Regions from separate parts of the Homo sapiens genome. Here all the other regions are linked to region 3. The links are contacts of gene promoters, found by promoter capture Hi-C in blood cells and fetal thymus (Javierre and others, 2016). All regions are on one chromosome and are shown on one strand. Each heading gives the region's core, a stretch centred on a gene start or on the middle of the fragment in contact. The rest is flanking DNA. Distances are from core to core; before and after follow the strand shown. Region 1 overlaps ADGRA2 (adhesion G protein-coupled receptor A2). Region 2 overlaps LOC124901934 (a long non-coding RNA gene). Region 3 holds the start of PLPP5 (phospholipid phosphatase 5). Region 4 has its middle 7.9 kb from the start of TACC1. Region 5 overlaps PLPBP (pyridoxal phosphate binding protein).

Evidence for each region. The method cuts DNA at HindIII sites, captures the fragments that hold promoters and counts their contacts. A CHiCAGO score of 5 or more calls a contact.
Region 1: a contact is called between a fragment that was not itself captured here and the fragment with the promoter of PLPP5 in region 3, in 1 of 17 cell types (naive CD8 T cells). The highest score is 5.6, in naive CD8 T cells.
Region 2: a fragment that was not itself captured here is called in contact with the fragment with the promoter of PLPP5 in region 3 in 8 of 17 cell types (total CD8 T cells, activated CD4 T cells, naive CD8 T cells and 5 more); the score reaches 10.4 in total CD8 T cells.
Region 4: a contact is called between a fragment that was not itself captured here and the fragment with the promoter of PLPP5 in region 3, in 3 of 17 cell types (megakaryocytes, total CD4 T cells and activated CD4 T cells). The highest score is 7.1, in megakaryocytes.
Region 5: a contact is called between a fragment that was not itself captured here and the fragment with the promoter of PLPP5 in region 3, in 6 of 17 cell types (activated CD4 T cells, total CD8 T cells, total CD4 T cells and 3 more). The highest score is 6.4, in activated CD4 T cells.

What each region holds. Positions count from the first base shown.
Region 1 is chr8:37,843,943-37,846,642 of GRCh38, reverse strand. It overlaps ADGRA2 (adhesion G protein-coupled receptor A2), which reads right to left. Exons shown (of 19, transcript NM_032777.10): 19 at 1,747-2,700. It overlaps BRF2 (BRF2 general transcription factor IIIB subunit), which reads left to right. Exons shown (of 4, transcript NM_018310.4): 4 at 1,430-2,700. The coding sequence ends at 2,153. Among named protein-coding and RNA genes, the nearest start is that of BRF2, 4.6 kb to the left of the region's middle. The HindIII fragment of the contact is 364 bases long and covers 1,085-1,448 here.
Region 2 is chr8:37,759,621-37,762,320 of GRCh38, reverse strand. It overlaps LOC124901934 (a long non-coding RNA gene), which reads left to right. Exons shown (of 2, transcript XR_007060889.1): 2 at 1-2,700. Among named protein-coding and RNA genes, the nearest start is that of PLPBP, 1.7 kb to the left of the region's middle. RefSeq lists an enhancer at 48-127. The HindIII fragment of the contact is 2,312 bases long and covers 294-2,605 here.
Region 3 is chr8:38,267,963-38,270,662 of GRCh38, reverse strand. It overlaps PLPP5 (phospholipid phosphatase 5), which reads left to right and starts at 1,439. Exons shown (of 7, transcript NM_001102559.2): 1 at 1,439-1,537; 2 at 1,673-1,781; 3 at 2,202-2,292. The coding sequence starts at 1,464. It overlaps NSD3 (nuclear receptor binding SET domain protein 3), which reads left to right. Exons shown (of 24, transcript NM_023034.2): 24 at 1-959. It also overlaps a transcript of DDHD2 not described here. RefSeq lists a silencer at 1,241-1,720. The HindIII fragment of the contact is 3,801 bases long and covers 751-2,700 here.
Region 4 is chr8:38,777,952-38,780,651 of GRCh38, reverse strand. It overlaps a transcript of TACC1 not described here. Among named protein-coding and RNA genes, the nearest start is that of TACC1, 7.9 kb to the left of the region's middle. The HindIII fragment of the contact is 1,490 bases long and covers 591-2,080 here.
Region 5 is chr8:37,778,631-37,781,330 of GRCh38, reverse strand. It overlaps PLPBP (pyridoxal phosphate binding protein), which reads right to left. Exons shown (of 8, transcript NM_007198.4): 8 at 1,563-2,700. Among named protein-coding and RNA genes, the nearest start is that of ADGRA2, 17 kb to the left of the region's middle. RefSeq lists enhancers at 1-401, 342-842. The HindIII fragment of the contact is 3,237 bases long and covers 1-2,700 here.

The sequences.
Region 1 (2,700 bases), core at 17-2,516, 420 kb after region 3:
GGTGCCTGCCACCATGCCTGGCTAATTTTTTTGTTTTTCTTTGCATTTTTAGTAGAGACAGGGTTTCACCATGTTGACCAGGCTGATCTCGAACTCCTGACCTCAGGTGATCCGCCTGCCTCGGCCTCCCAAAGTTCTGGGATTACAGGCGTGAGCCACCGCACCCGGCCTTGGCCATCTCTTTTTTACCAAAGCCCATGTAAAAGGATGTGGGAGAAAGATCTTTAGTTTAAACTTGTACTCATAAGGTTAATATTGTTTTACATTTTTAGAATGCTATAATTTTCTTTTTTTTGAGACCGAGTCTTGCTGTGTTGCCCAGGCTGGAGAGCAGTGGCATGATTTCGGCTCACGGCAACCTCCACCTCCCGGGTTCAAGTGATTTTTGTGCCTCAGCCTCCCAAGTAGCTGGGACTACAGGTGCATGCCACCATGCCTGGCTAATTTTTTGTTTTTAGTAGAGATGGGGTTTCGCCATGTTGCCCAGGCTGGTCTTGAACTCCTGGACTCAAGCGTTCTACCCACCTCAGCCTCCCAAAGTGCTGGGATTACAAGTGTGAGCCACTGCACCCCGCCAAAGAATGCTATAATTTTCAAACCCCTTTGCCTTCACAGCAACCTAATGACTTGGGGAAAATAGGTCTGAGTCTTGGCACAGGGCTGCTGAGTTGCACCACTCATGTTTTGTGCTCTGTGCATGGCAGTTCCTAGAGTTGTGCTGTGCCATGGGCTTTGTGGCTGAATGCCCAGCTCTGTCTCAGCAGGATCATCTGCAGAGGAAGCTGAAAGTATATTAGTTAATGACATAACTGGGCTTAGAAGCTAAGTCTTTTCTAGTTTTTTTAAAGACAGGGTCTCTTTCACCCAGCCTGGAGTGCAGTGGCACCATCATAGCTCACTGCAGCCTGGAACTCATGGGCTCAAGCGATCTGCCCACCTGATCCTCCCAAAATGCAGGTATTACAGGCGTGAGCACTGCGCCTGGCTCTTTTCTCATTTGAAGTAGCTATGTTCTTTTCTTTTTTCTGATAAATAACGTTGAAAGTAGAGGCTGTTGGTGTCAAATAGCCTTGTATTTGAAGCTTGGTTACTGCCTGGCTGGATGACTATGGGAAAGTTTTTTAACTATACATGCACATAAGATGGTGCACGTGCACGTAGATTAAATGAGAACGTTGTAAAGCACTCAGAATAATGGTGATTGGGAGGCGCCCAATAAATGTTCGTGCTCTCCTCCATCCCTCCACCTTCCCCTAACAAGCGGAAGACGCCCTGTTTTCTCTCACTACCTTTATTAACTTGCTGCCCAGTGAGCTTGAGTATTCCTGAGGGCAGAATAGCTTCCCCATCTTGAGTGGGCTGTCTTTCCTCACTGTGGGAGAGCAGCCCCTATATCATTAAGATCCAACCCTCATTTTGGTTATTTCAGCTTCAAACTGTTCCAAGCTTCACCTTCTGTGCCAGCCAAATACGTGGAAGACAAAGAGAAGATGCTGTCTCGAACAATGCAGTTGGTGGAGCTGGCAAATGAGACGTGGCTGGTGACCGGGAGGCATCCCTTGCCCGTCATCACTGCTGCGACTTTCCTGGCTTGGCAGTCGCTGCAGCCTGCAGATCGGCTTTCATGTTCCCTTGCCCGATTTTGTAAATTGGCAAATGTGGACCTGCCCTACCCGGCGTCCTCCCGCCTGCAGGAGCTGCTGGCTGTGCTGCTGCGGATGGCTGAGCAGCTGGCCTGGTTACGAGTTCTGAGACTTGACAAACGGTCTGTGGTGAAGCACATCGGTGACCTTCTCCAGCACCGCCAGTCACTGGTCCGCTCTGCCTTTCGGGATGGGACAGCAGAAGTGGAGACCCGAGAGAAGGAGCCACCGGGGTGGGGACAGGGGCAAGGAGAAGGGGAGGTGGGAAATAATTCCTTAGGTTTACCCCAGGGGAAGCGGCCGGCCAGTCCTGCCCTTCTCTTGCCACCCTGCATGTTGAAGTCCCCGAAGCGGATCTGCCCTGTACCCCCTGTCTCCACTGTCACTGGAGATGAGAACATTTCTGATAGTGAAATAGAACAGTATTTGCGTACCCCTCAGGAAGTTAGGGACTTTCAGAGAGCCCAGGCTGCTAGACAGGCTGCCACGAGTGTCCCTAACCCTCCCTGATGGATATCCACTGGGAGCACTTCATCCTGTTCTGACAGCTTGATAACATTCCTGTTATAACCAAGGATGGAAGTGTACACCAGTCCGTAGGTATTGCTTTTCTTGTTTGAAGGAACCAAGAGGGGCTCTGCCATTAGTTGGACCCTGGGTCCTGGAGTAAAGTCAGGAGTGCAGGGATGACTATAGGTAGGAGAGATTCCCATCCCTTGGTGTGGGAGAGCAAGTTGCCTATGTCCATGTTCTGTGAGATGGCTTTCCTCATAGATGGATGGGAAAATGTCAGGCTCTTTGCTGCTGGTTTGAATTGGACACACTGCTGCGGCTCCTCCTGCAGGCCTGAGGGGGCTTCCCTCTGCTTGTGGAGTGGTTGGCATTCCCAGCAGTATCAACCCTCAGAGGAGCGGGAACTGGGGAATTCTGGCCCTACGTGCATTCACAGGCAATGATGGGTTTGTGTGTATGGTGTCATGAGATCCTCTACCTCATAACAAAAGGACAGTGGGTAGACTAAGGCAGTAGCTCAAAGGGCTTTGCAAAATTTTAATAT
Region 2 (2,700 bases), core at 200-2,699, 510 kb after region 3:
ATCCTGTTTCCTTTCAAAACGCCTTTCCAGGCTTGCCCGTTCCCGGCTTTCTGGGCGCGGGGACCAGAATTAGAAGCCACTGGGGCGGGAGCCAGGGCTTTTCTCTGTCAGATGGTTCTTGCGAGGAACCCCTAAGCGATACGAAAGGAAACTCTTCTTTCTTCTTTTCCCTAAAGACATGGCGTGATTCAAACGTATCGTGATTTTTGTCATCTTTCAGACCACTGCTGTCCAAGAGAAATATAACGCCATCCAACTGTGTAATTTGGAAGTTTCTCATAGGCACATAAGCTTAAAAATTTTAATGATATACTTTATTTAATCCAATATATCCAAAGTAAGATTTCAACATGCAATCAATAGAAAAACTAAATGCGATATTTTAATTCTTTTGAAAATCGTATGTGTTTCTGAAACCCGGTGTAGTGTTGACTTGCATATGTCTCAATTCGGGCCATCCCTATTTCGAGAGGTTAGCGGCCACCTGCGGCCAGTGCTGTCTCATCAGGGGACACAGGCAGCATGATTATTACTATTATTATTATTGAGACAGTCTCGCTCTGTCACCCAGGCTGGAGTGCGGTGGCCCGATCTGGGCTCACTGCAACCTCCACCTCCCGGGTTCAAGCGATTCTCCTGCCTCAGCCTCCCCAGTAGCTGGGACTACAGGTGCGAGCCACCGCGCCCAGCCCACAGGCAGCTTTAGATGGTCTAGCAGGAGCTCAGCACATTCAGTTAGATTCTTTTTTTGAGATGGGGTCTCGCTATGTTGCCCAGATTATCTGGGACTCGTGGGCCCAAGCAATCCTCCCACCTCCGCCTCACAGAATAGCTGGGACTACAAACGGGCACCACAACGCCCTGAGTTTGATTCTTGAGTCCCCTTCTGTGGGCAATATGGTTATAAACTTGATGAGGAGCCAGGCCATACAAATAATAATACAGAATGCTACATAGTCAGGTGGTGAAATAGTAGGTGCTACGGGCAAGGAGAAGGAGATCAATTTTGTTAAGGAAAGCACTCTTGGCTGCAATTTCTGTTGAAAGTTTCTCAAACATTAATTCAACTTAATGAAGTGGGATGCTATTATATTAGAGAAATGGCTAATGTTTGTTCTTCAGGTGGTCTTGTCTTGAGGTGATGGGGTTTATTAGAGCTTTCCGGAAAGAAGGGGCAATATTCTTACTCTCTCCTCTCACAGTTTTTCCCCAGACTCCCAGGAACAGAGATGGAATTTCACATCTTCTGCTCTGGGAAAGTCACATTAGGCAGAACCTCAGATCCTTAAAATAAGGGACTTCTTTTTGGGAAGTCTCTGGTCATTTACCCTGGTACACATTAACTGGGTTATCTGCAAACTAGGACTGCCAACATTAGGAGTAATTGTGTTCAGATAAAATGTCTCTAGACTTGATACATCTGTACTCCAACCAAAATGATAAAAAAATTTAAAATGACCAGAATGGCCCTTTGTGGTGTGAGCATAATAGATGCTTGCTGTAGAGACACAGGTGGGAAGGAGCGAGCCAGCAGTGAGTGATGGGGAGGACAGAGGGGATCATGGTGATGGGATGTGTAGAGGAAGGATTGGGTGAGATGAAACACTTCAAATAATGTGCTATTTGGAAAACATTTTAAAACCATAAATACCTCACAGATCTAGGGAATGTATAATCCAGGTGTTACGTCACTATGACAACAAGTAGTTGTAGCTTCATTTACTAGATTGGGCCTCTATTCTTTTTTGTGTTTTTTGAGACGAAGTCTTGCTCTGTCACTCAAGCTGGAGTGCAGTGACGCGATCTCGGCTCACTGCAACCTCTGCCTCCTGGGTGCAAGTGATTCTCCTGCCTGAGCCTCCCGAGTAGCTGGGACTACAGGCGTGCATCACCACGCCCGCCTAATTTTTGTATTTTTAGTACAGATGGGGTTTCACTATGTTAGCCAGGTTGGTCTCGAACTCCTGACCTTGTGATCCACCCGCCTCGGCCTCCCAAAGTGCTGGGATTACAGTCGTGGGCCACCGTGCCCAGCCAGGGACCTCTATTCTTTGAACTACAAGGCAAGGTCATCCTCCCACCCCCTTATCCATTCAGTGAACATTTACTGAGGCGTTACTCTGTAAAGAACCCTGAGAGAGACCAGGCTGAGTAAGACAGGCTTTACTGCCGATTTACTTCCAATATGCTCGCTTTTCATCTCTGACATTCTGTGGTCTTATGAAAATGGAAATGGAGACAAAAAGATCATGGTGCCCCCAGTCCCATGGTCATTTCACATTCCAATTTCTTCTTAGTTGTACTTTTGAATTAATTTTATTTCACTTTGTCCCTTTTTTTCCTTATTTGCTTTTTTAATTTCTTCTCTTCCTCTTCCTGGGACATCAACCATCCAATTTAACCTTTCATCCTCCCCTACTACCTAATCCTTGAAAAATACAAGTCCAAAATCATTTCATCACCAGTAATTGTCTTTAAATTGCTCCAATAATTTGCAAGGACCAAGGGGAAAAGAGAAAGATTAAAAAGCCAAATGCCCAGAGAAACAGATTTTATAAATAATCTAAAATCTAGTATACTTATTCACCATCAATGCCATCAAGCTTTTAAAACACCCTCATAGTCTGGAATAAATCCAAATTATGAGAAAAACATATATGGATTTAAAAATTGTTTCCTTCTGAGCCTACTGTGAGTCTT
Region 3 (2,700 bases), core at 190-2,689:
ACTTGATGTGTGCAAACAGCCCTCAAGTATCTGTCAGATGACCTATATAAGGTATTGAATAAGGTATTCTTGTCAGTTTAGAAATGGACTGGATAAAACTTACTTGGTTGTCATTATTTTATCTCATTTGTCCTGTTACATGCCCTATGTTAAGATAATTATATTGCCACTAATAATCAAGATGCTAAATGAGTATTACAACTGGCTAATATCATTTTTTATATACAAGGGTATGTGTATATTTGGAATTGATATGAGAAACTCATTTGTACCCATTTGAGTGATATTGCACAACAAACACAGATACCTACAGACTCCGTTTTCATTTTCTCGTGTTCTTTATGATAATGATCTTTGTAGATTGGTTATTTCTGTACTTTATCTGTAATAAACTTTGTAGATCCTGTGAACCATTACTTTGCCTAAATCACTTGAGACTTGAGTCTTTAATAACAAAGCATCAATATTCACTAAAGTCAATCTCTTTTGAGTTTCTGTGACTTGGCTAGAAGCTCTTGACACTAAGGGATTAGTGTTAATTTTCCCTGGGGGTGTTCCACTAGGGCATTACTGTATAATGACTTGATGTTGCCACATAGACTTCAAGATATATAATATTTTGAGGATTTTGTTGATTGGCCTATGTTTTATTGCATAGTGTGAAACGTGTAAAGCTTGGTTAACCTGTATATAGATAGCTTATTGTTGACTAGTTATAGTGTATTTAGGGTTGCCTGTAATATTTAAGCTTCTTTACTGATGTGTGTGCTGGTAGGAACATATAATTTTTGTACATTATATTTACTGAGATGTTGCCTTTTTTATTTTACAAATACTTTGGAATTCCAATGTGTTTTTTGCTTCCGTGAGGATTAATTTGGAAAGGTTTTTAATGACATTCCACTGATTTCAGATTTTGCTTGAGATTGACTTCAATAAATTGTCCTGTATGTTCCAAATTAAATATGTGGGCTTGTTCTTTGCCAATAATTTTTTGCTACAACACTCTGGGCAGGAGGCCATCCTGGGTGGGAGGACTAAATGACACAATCCAGCCAACCTCAGGTAGTGTAGCTTCCTGCAGAATGCGGCTGTGTTGCTAAGGAACGAGGATCTGAGAGCGGGCTGTTTGGTTTTCCATTTAGAGGCGAGGTCCCGGGAGAAGGCTGCTCCCCGCGGTGGTGTGGTTGGGCCGTGGAGACGAGCTGCTGATGATGGACCGTACGCCGACCTACTCGGCTGGAACTGGGGCGCTGGCTCCCTGCTGAACGCACCAGAGGGCAGCTCCGCTGGCTTTGCGTACCCTTTGCCAGACGATGCCCTCGGCACAGCCGCCAGGCCGTCTTCCTGGGGAGCCGCCGGAGCGCGGGCAACTGGGAGAGGGGGCGGTGCCCAGTTCCCGGCCCGGCCCTCCCCGCGGAGGTGGCCACGTCAGCGCAGCGTCGCTCGGAGCTCGCGGCCGGATGGGGAAGGCGGCGGCGGCGGTGGCCTTTGGGGCCGAAGTGGGCGTGCGGCTCGCGCTGTTCGCGGCCTTCCTGTAAGAAAGATCCACGGCCGGGCCCGGGCGGCCCCGCTTCCCAGGCAGGCGGGCGGCACGGGGCGGCGGGTCGGGCAGTGGGGAAGCGGGGAGGAAGCCAGGCGACCTGCTCTGCGCTTCTTTGTTCCCCTCTAGGGTGACGGAGCTGCTCCCCCCGTTCCAGAGACTCATCCAGCCGGAGGAGATGTGGCTCTACCGGAACCCCTACGTGGAGGCGGAGTATTTCCCCACCAAGCCGATGTTTGTGCGTGGAGAAAGATCGTCTTTCCTCCCTCCCCATGACCCGGCTTCCCGCGGGCACCTGTGCGTTTTCCACCCCGAGACGGCCTTTGTAGGGACCCACTGCCCACTCCGCTGCTGTGCGCTGGGTTCCGCCTCCTAGGGCTCGAGTGTTTAAGATCCTGATTGAGAGAGGAGGGTGTCCGAGCCTCTTTGGGCTGAGACAACGTTTTCCCGGGCGCTCTGTGCCTCAGCCTGAGGTACCGGGGCCCGAGCCGCACGGGCGCTGCTGTTCACTGGTGGCGCTGCCTGGCGCCCGGTTACGCGCACTCAGAGACCTTATGTTAGCTCCAGTGAGTCCTGCTGTGTCACATCCCTCTTTCCTGTAGGAGCACGAGTGTGGCTTTTTTTTGGATTGTTTTTAACCTCTGACATTCTGATTCAGGTTATTGCATTTCTCTCTCCACTGTCTCTGATCTTCCTGGCCAAATTTCTCAAGAAGGCAGACACAAGAGACAGCAGACAAGCCTGCCTGGGTGAGCGCTAGCCCTTTCGGGCCGGTTTCTTCGTGCTGGGAACCTAGGAGGTCGTTGTGGGATTCAGCCACGGTGAGCCTGTGTGGAGGCCACTGAGTTCTGCATTCCTAAAGGAACTCTATCCCCGCGGGAGAGGAAAATAGCACTGCAGGGACTTGGTTACGCAGGCTACACGGCAGGCAGCCCTGTGCCTAAATGCACTGGGTTATTTGTACCTCAGAAATGTCTTTGGCCTAGTACAAAAGTTCTCGGCTACAAAAGAGTGATCACTGAGGACCCTAATTATTTTTGTGCCCAGGCCTGGTTGGATTCTATCCATCTCAGAAACAGCACGGCTGCTCTCATAACGAGGCCATGACCATACCTTTCCTCCTAGACAGATCCTTTCAACTAATGGCTTTGCTTTGC
Region 4 (2,700 bases), core at 86-2,585, 510 kb before region 3:
TAGATTTTGTAAAAAAAAAACAAAAAAAAACAACACCAACAAGAAGAGTGAAGAATAGACTAGTCCTACAAGACATTGAGACACATTTATGCAAAAATAGCCAGATCTTTGTTCTGTAACACAGAACAGAAAGCCCAGGAAAAGATCTTACAAGATACAGGAATTTATTATATACCAAAAAAGATGGCTTGAACCCGGGAGGCGGAGGTTGCAGTGAGCCAAGATCGTGCCACTGCACTCCAGCCTGGGCAACAGAGCGAGACTCTATCTCAAAAAAAAAGAACAAACAACAAAAATATAAAGAACATGTTACAATATGTAAGGAGAAGGAAGATTTATGATTGGAGCATAGTTGGCTGGCAATGGGAAAAAAGATCAAGTTAAACCCTTACCTCAGAGCATATACCAGGATAAATTCCAGATGGATTAGATGACTAAATAATAAAAATCGAACCATTGGGAGAAAACAGTCTACAAGCAACAGAATCTATCAGAGCTCTGTAGGAAGGATGAGGATCCAACTTACAAGTAATTAATGAAATCAGACACAAAATAAAGATAGATTTGGTTACATTTAAAAAAATGAAGCTTCTGACTGTGTGCCTTCAAGTTAAAAGGCAAACAACAGGCCATGGAAAAACAAAGGCTGTTAGTATTGTTATTACCTAAGGAACTCGTGAAAACAAGTAAGATCATTTAAGCCCCAAAAGAAAAGTGAACAATTATAACTGCTTACTATGTGTTAGACACTACACTTTACATGAATCGTCTCATTTAATCTCCCCCACTTACTCCTACAATCTCAGGAGGAAAGTATTGTTACGGCCTTTTTGTTGTTGTTAACAAGTTAACTTGGCTGCATTTCACCCTCTACAGCAGAGGCTTAGCAAGGAAGGGTTTCAGAAGGTCCTGGCCTCCCTGAAATTGTATGCAAAAAGTATGTGTGTGTGCATATTTGCATCAGTCTCTCCCTCTCCTCTTCCCCACATACAGTCAAGCCCCACTCCAGGAATAATGTTTTAGGTTGACTAAAGATTGATTTTCGAATCTGAAAGGGAACTAATATAAAATTCTTCAGTATAAGGAAGTACTGGCCAAAAAAGCCCTTATACGGAAAATCCAGACCTGCCAGAAGTTAGTGTAGAAAACAGCCAGCTTTGAAGACACCCGGAGGGTGGAAAAGGGCGGAGAGCAGGCCTAGCAGTGCTCACCACTCCAGGCAGGGTGTGCCCTTCCCCAAATGCCCAGTGGGAGCCCATGTTACTGGGCAGCCTGTGGGTTTCATCTAAGTGACTGTGTGGTGACCAAAGTGTGAAATGCTCATTTCAAGAAGGCATTTGCCAGTTGAGCCAAAGTACCATAAAAAAAGAGCATTTCAGCCAGGCATAGTGGCATCTTCCTATAATCCCAGCACTTTTGGAGGCTGAGGCAGGAGGATAACTTGAGCCCAGGACTTTGAGACCAGCCTGAGCAACATAGCAAAACCCCATCTCTATAAAAAAATTAAAAAGTAGCCAGGCGTGGTGGTGTTCGCCTGTAGTCCCAGCTAATCTTGAGCCCAGGAGGATCGCTTGAGCCCAGAAGGTCAAGGCTGAAGTAAGCCGTGATTGTGGCATTGCATTCCAGATTGGGTGACAGAGCGAGACCTTGTCTAAAAAGAAAAGAAAAAAAAAAAAAAAACCCAAGGACCCCTACTGATACAAATGAGAATCCTCAAAGGCACAAAAAATTGGGCCAGAGCATAAAAGGCATACTTTATGTGGGAGGTGCAAAAGGATTAATTTTAACATCTCTTTCTTTGGGATGCTCTTTCGCTATACTTCCTTTTAGGGTGGTTTCTTCCAAGAAACTATGTTGATGAGGGAAATGACACCCAGGAGCCTCTCCCCATCTGGGAAAAAGTAGCAAGGCTCAGCAAAGAAAGGAGGCATCAAACAGGTTGCCAAGGCCTGATTTTGTGAAGCAGGAAGCCTAAAAACTGGGGAAGCACTCTTTAAGAAAAATGCTAAAGGACCCCATGAACACAGTGCTAGGGCCACACTAGTATGAAGGGGCCCATGCAAGGGAGGGGACTGAAGCTTAGGCTTCCTCAGCTTCATAGTAAATTCAGCTCTGCCCAGAGAACAAAAGAGATTCCTGCCTGTGGCTCAGGAGTGGTTCAGCTGGCCTCAACTCAGTAAGTGAAATGTCCATTTATGGAGCGAGGGGGTCACACTGACCTCTGTCTTCTTAGAGGAAACAAAAATATTTAACTGTTGGAAACTGGATAAAACTGTCAAAAGATATCTCCTACACAGATTGTGAAACATAATTCATGGCTCTGTTCCTTCTGTACCCATTGTAAACACACACATACACACACACACACACACACACAATTTTAATTATTAAGATAAAAAAGCAAAAGGCCAGGTGTGGTGGCTCATGATTGTAATCCCAACACTTTGGGAGACGAAGGCAGGAGGATCGCTTGAGCCCAGGAGTTTGAGACCAGCCTGGACCACACAGTGAGAGCCCATCTCTACACACATGCACACACACAAAGATAAAAAAGAAAAACTATAATGCTTCTTTAACATTGTGTGTCTATGCACCTCTACTCTTTGAATTTCCACAAGATCACCATGGTAGAGCCTAATTCCCTCACCCCACATCCTGTATCCATCTGTATCCATCATTTCCTTATTTCTTCTAGCAAAA
Region 5 (2,700 bases), core at 201-2,700, 490 kb after region 3:
TGTGAGATTAGCTTGAATCATGAGGAATGAGCTTGGGAGGGAGATGGGATGACGAGAGGGGAGGCCAATCCCACTCATGGCTGGGTTTAATGCTCTCCTTCCTTCTCACCCCCACTGCCTGTGGTTTCAAAGTTTGTTCTGCATTAAGATGCGTCAATTCTCAGCTGTTCCACTGGAATAGAAACACACACACTTATTTTATGGTAATAAGGCTCGTTTAAATGAAAGCTGCACATCTAAGAATATGCCACTTATCAATTATTAAAGGTAGAGATAGAAGATACCAGTGTGGAGTAGTGACCATGTTCTGGGCCAGAAAGTCAAGTCCTGAGTTTATTTCTCGTCCTGCCACAACTCACTCTGACCTCAGACAAGGAGAACACGGAACCTTCTCTGGGCCCCAGTGCCCCGTCCACAAAGGGACATTGCCTATCAGCCTACACAAGTCTACCAGCTGTTGTGATGGTGAAATGAGAGAATATAGAGAATAGTGCTGCATATGCCATCAATGTTAAACAAAAGGTGGGGGGTACCATTTGAGTATTAAGAGGTTGCTTTAAGAACTGTGATAGAATCTGTGAGGAGCTCCCCAAGAGATCAAAGTCTTGATGGACTATTGGGAGGTTTTGTGGCGTCTCAAGCCTTCTGAGGCTGGCTTCAGGGCAGACAAGGGCCCAGCGCCTTCAGAGACTGTGAGGCTGCACAGGTGGGCCCAATCCAGGAGAGCAAGCCGTCCAAACTCCAGGAACTGGCTTTCATGAAAATCTGGAAGAAACCCAACCTGCCACCCATCATGCGTAACGAAAGACAAACTCACAACCTGGCTCAATTTTCTCTCTGCAAAATATCCCATCCTGCTGGGGACACCCTAGACACACTTTGGTGTCCTTCCCTTATCTAGATCTGATTGAGCCTTCCCTGGCTTTCCTCCTTATTCGCTGTTTTTGTTTTGTTTTGAGATGGGGTCTCACCTTGTCACCCAAGCTGCAGTGCAGTGGTGCGATCTCAGCTCACCGTGACTTCTTCCTCCCAGGCTCAAGCGATCCTCCCACCTCAGCCTCTGGAGTAGCTGGGTCCACAGGCATGTGCCACCATGCCCAGCTAATTTTTGGGCGGGGTATTTTTGGTACAGACAAGATTTCACCGTGTTGCCCAGGCTAGCTGGTATCGAACCCCTGAGGCTCTGCAAGTCACACTATCACTTGAGAGCGTCATGTCCTCTCTGGCCTCCACCAGACTGAGTAACCAGGAGTCCCTCATAAGGTAAACTACTGACAGTGGAGAGCCAGTGCTTGTCCCTCAGGTTAGCCAATGTCGCCATCTAGAGGCAATTCAAAAGTCTCTTGCAGTGAGGGGTAACTATTTTTGTAATTCTTGAAATGTCCTTTTTCTTGCCCTTAGAAGTTCAGAATCCCTCTCACCCATGGTGTAGCTTTGGCTGCGTCTGTGACCCCAGGGAAGCCCTCCTCCAAAGCCAGGCTGGCACAATGCCAAGGCACCAGCATAGCTGCTTCCCGTCGGTTCCAATGCCCCCACCTGTTATATTCAGTCACTACACCAGATCATAAAAAATAAATCTTTTAATTGCTTTGTAATTGGCACAGATGGTGTAATTCAAACTCACATTTTTATTTAATAGACTCTGAAATATCACACTGTAGCTCTCACTGAAATAATACAGGAATCATAATGTTTAAGTTTACAAAAGTACATTTGGCAGCATCATGATGTTTTGAAAGTTACCTGTAAAATCAAAGACTGGGGCTTCAAAAAATAAGAGAAAAAGCCATCTGGAAAATAAAAAACAAGCCATACTGAAGCCATTTGTCATGACTATTAGAGAATGGTGTTTTTGGGTTTTTTGAGGATCTTGCTACTTTATTAATGATCCAGAAGAGTTGCACAATTCTGGCTTGTAAATACAGTGGGGAAGCTGTAACTATGCCTGGAAAGTGCTCCTCAGGACAAGGAATGTCAAAGCCAGGCTTTGTTGAAACCATGTGCCTGAAAAGGCTTTGAAGGAATCTTTCGTTTCTTAGGAGTAATGAGATTCACTGGGTTTTGATTTAAAAAATCACCCTAAAGAGGATTATAGTGGAGGAGATAATCATTAAATTCTCATCACTGTAGGTCCCAGAGGAAAAACGCAAAGTCCTGTCTCTTCAGGATGATGTCAGAAAGGCCCAAGTCCTCCTTATGTTATCCTTTAATTTCAGGGATAAAACAGAGTGGCAGTGACACAAGCTCTCACTACCAAATTAATTTTTTTTTTAAGAGACAGGCTGTCTCTAAAAAAGTTGGGGGGTATTATCTGCATATTAAAAGGTTGCTTTAAGAAATGTGACAGCATCTATGAAGAACTTCCCAAGAGATCAAAGCCTTCATGGACTATTGGGATTTTTTTTTTTTTTTTAAGGCAGGAGTACAGTGGTGCAATCATAGCTCACTGCAGCCTCAAACTCCTGGGCTCAAGTGATTCTTCCATTCTTCCACCTCAGCCACCATGCCCAGTTAATTTTTAAATTTTTTTGTAGAGACGGGGGGTGGGGCTCCTGCTGTTGCTGAGGCTGGTCTTGAACTCCTAGGCTCAGGTGATCCTTCCGCCTCTGTCTCCCAAATTGCTGGGATTACAGGCATGAGTCACCATGCCTGGCCAGCAACAATTTGTGTTTTGAGAATTAACCTGAGCCATTTCCTGAA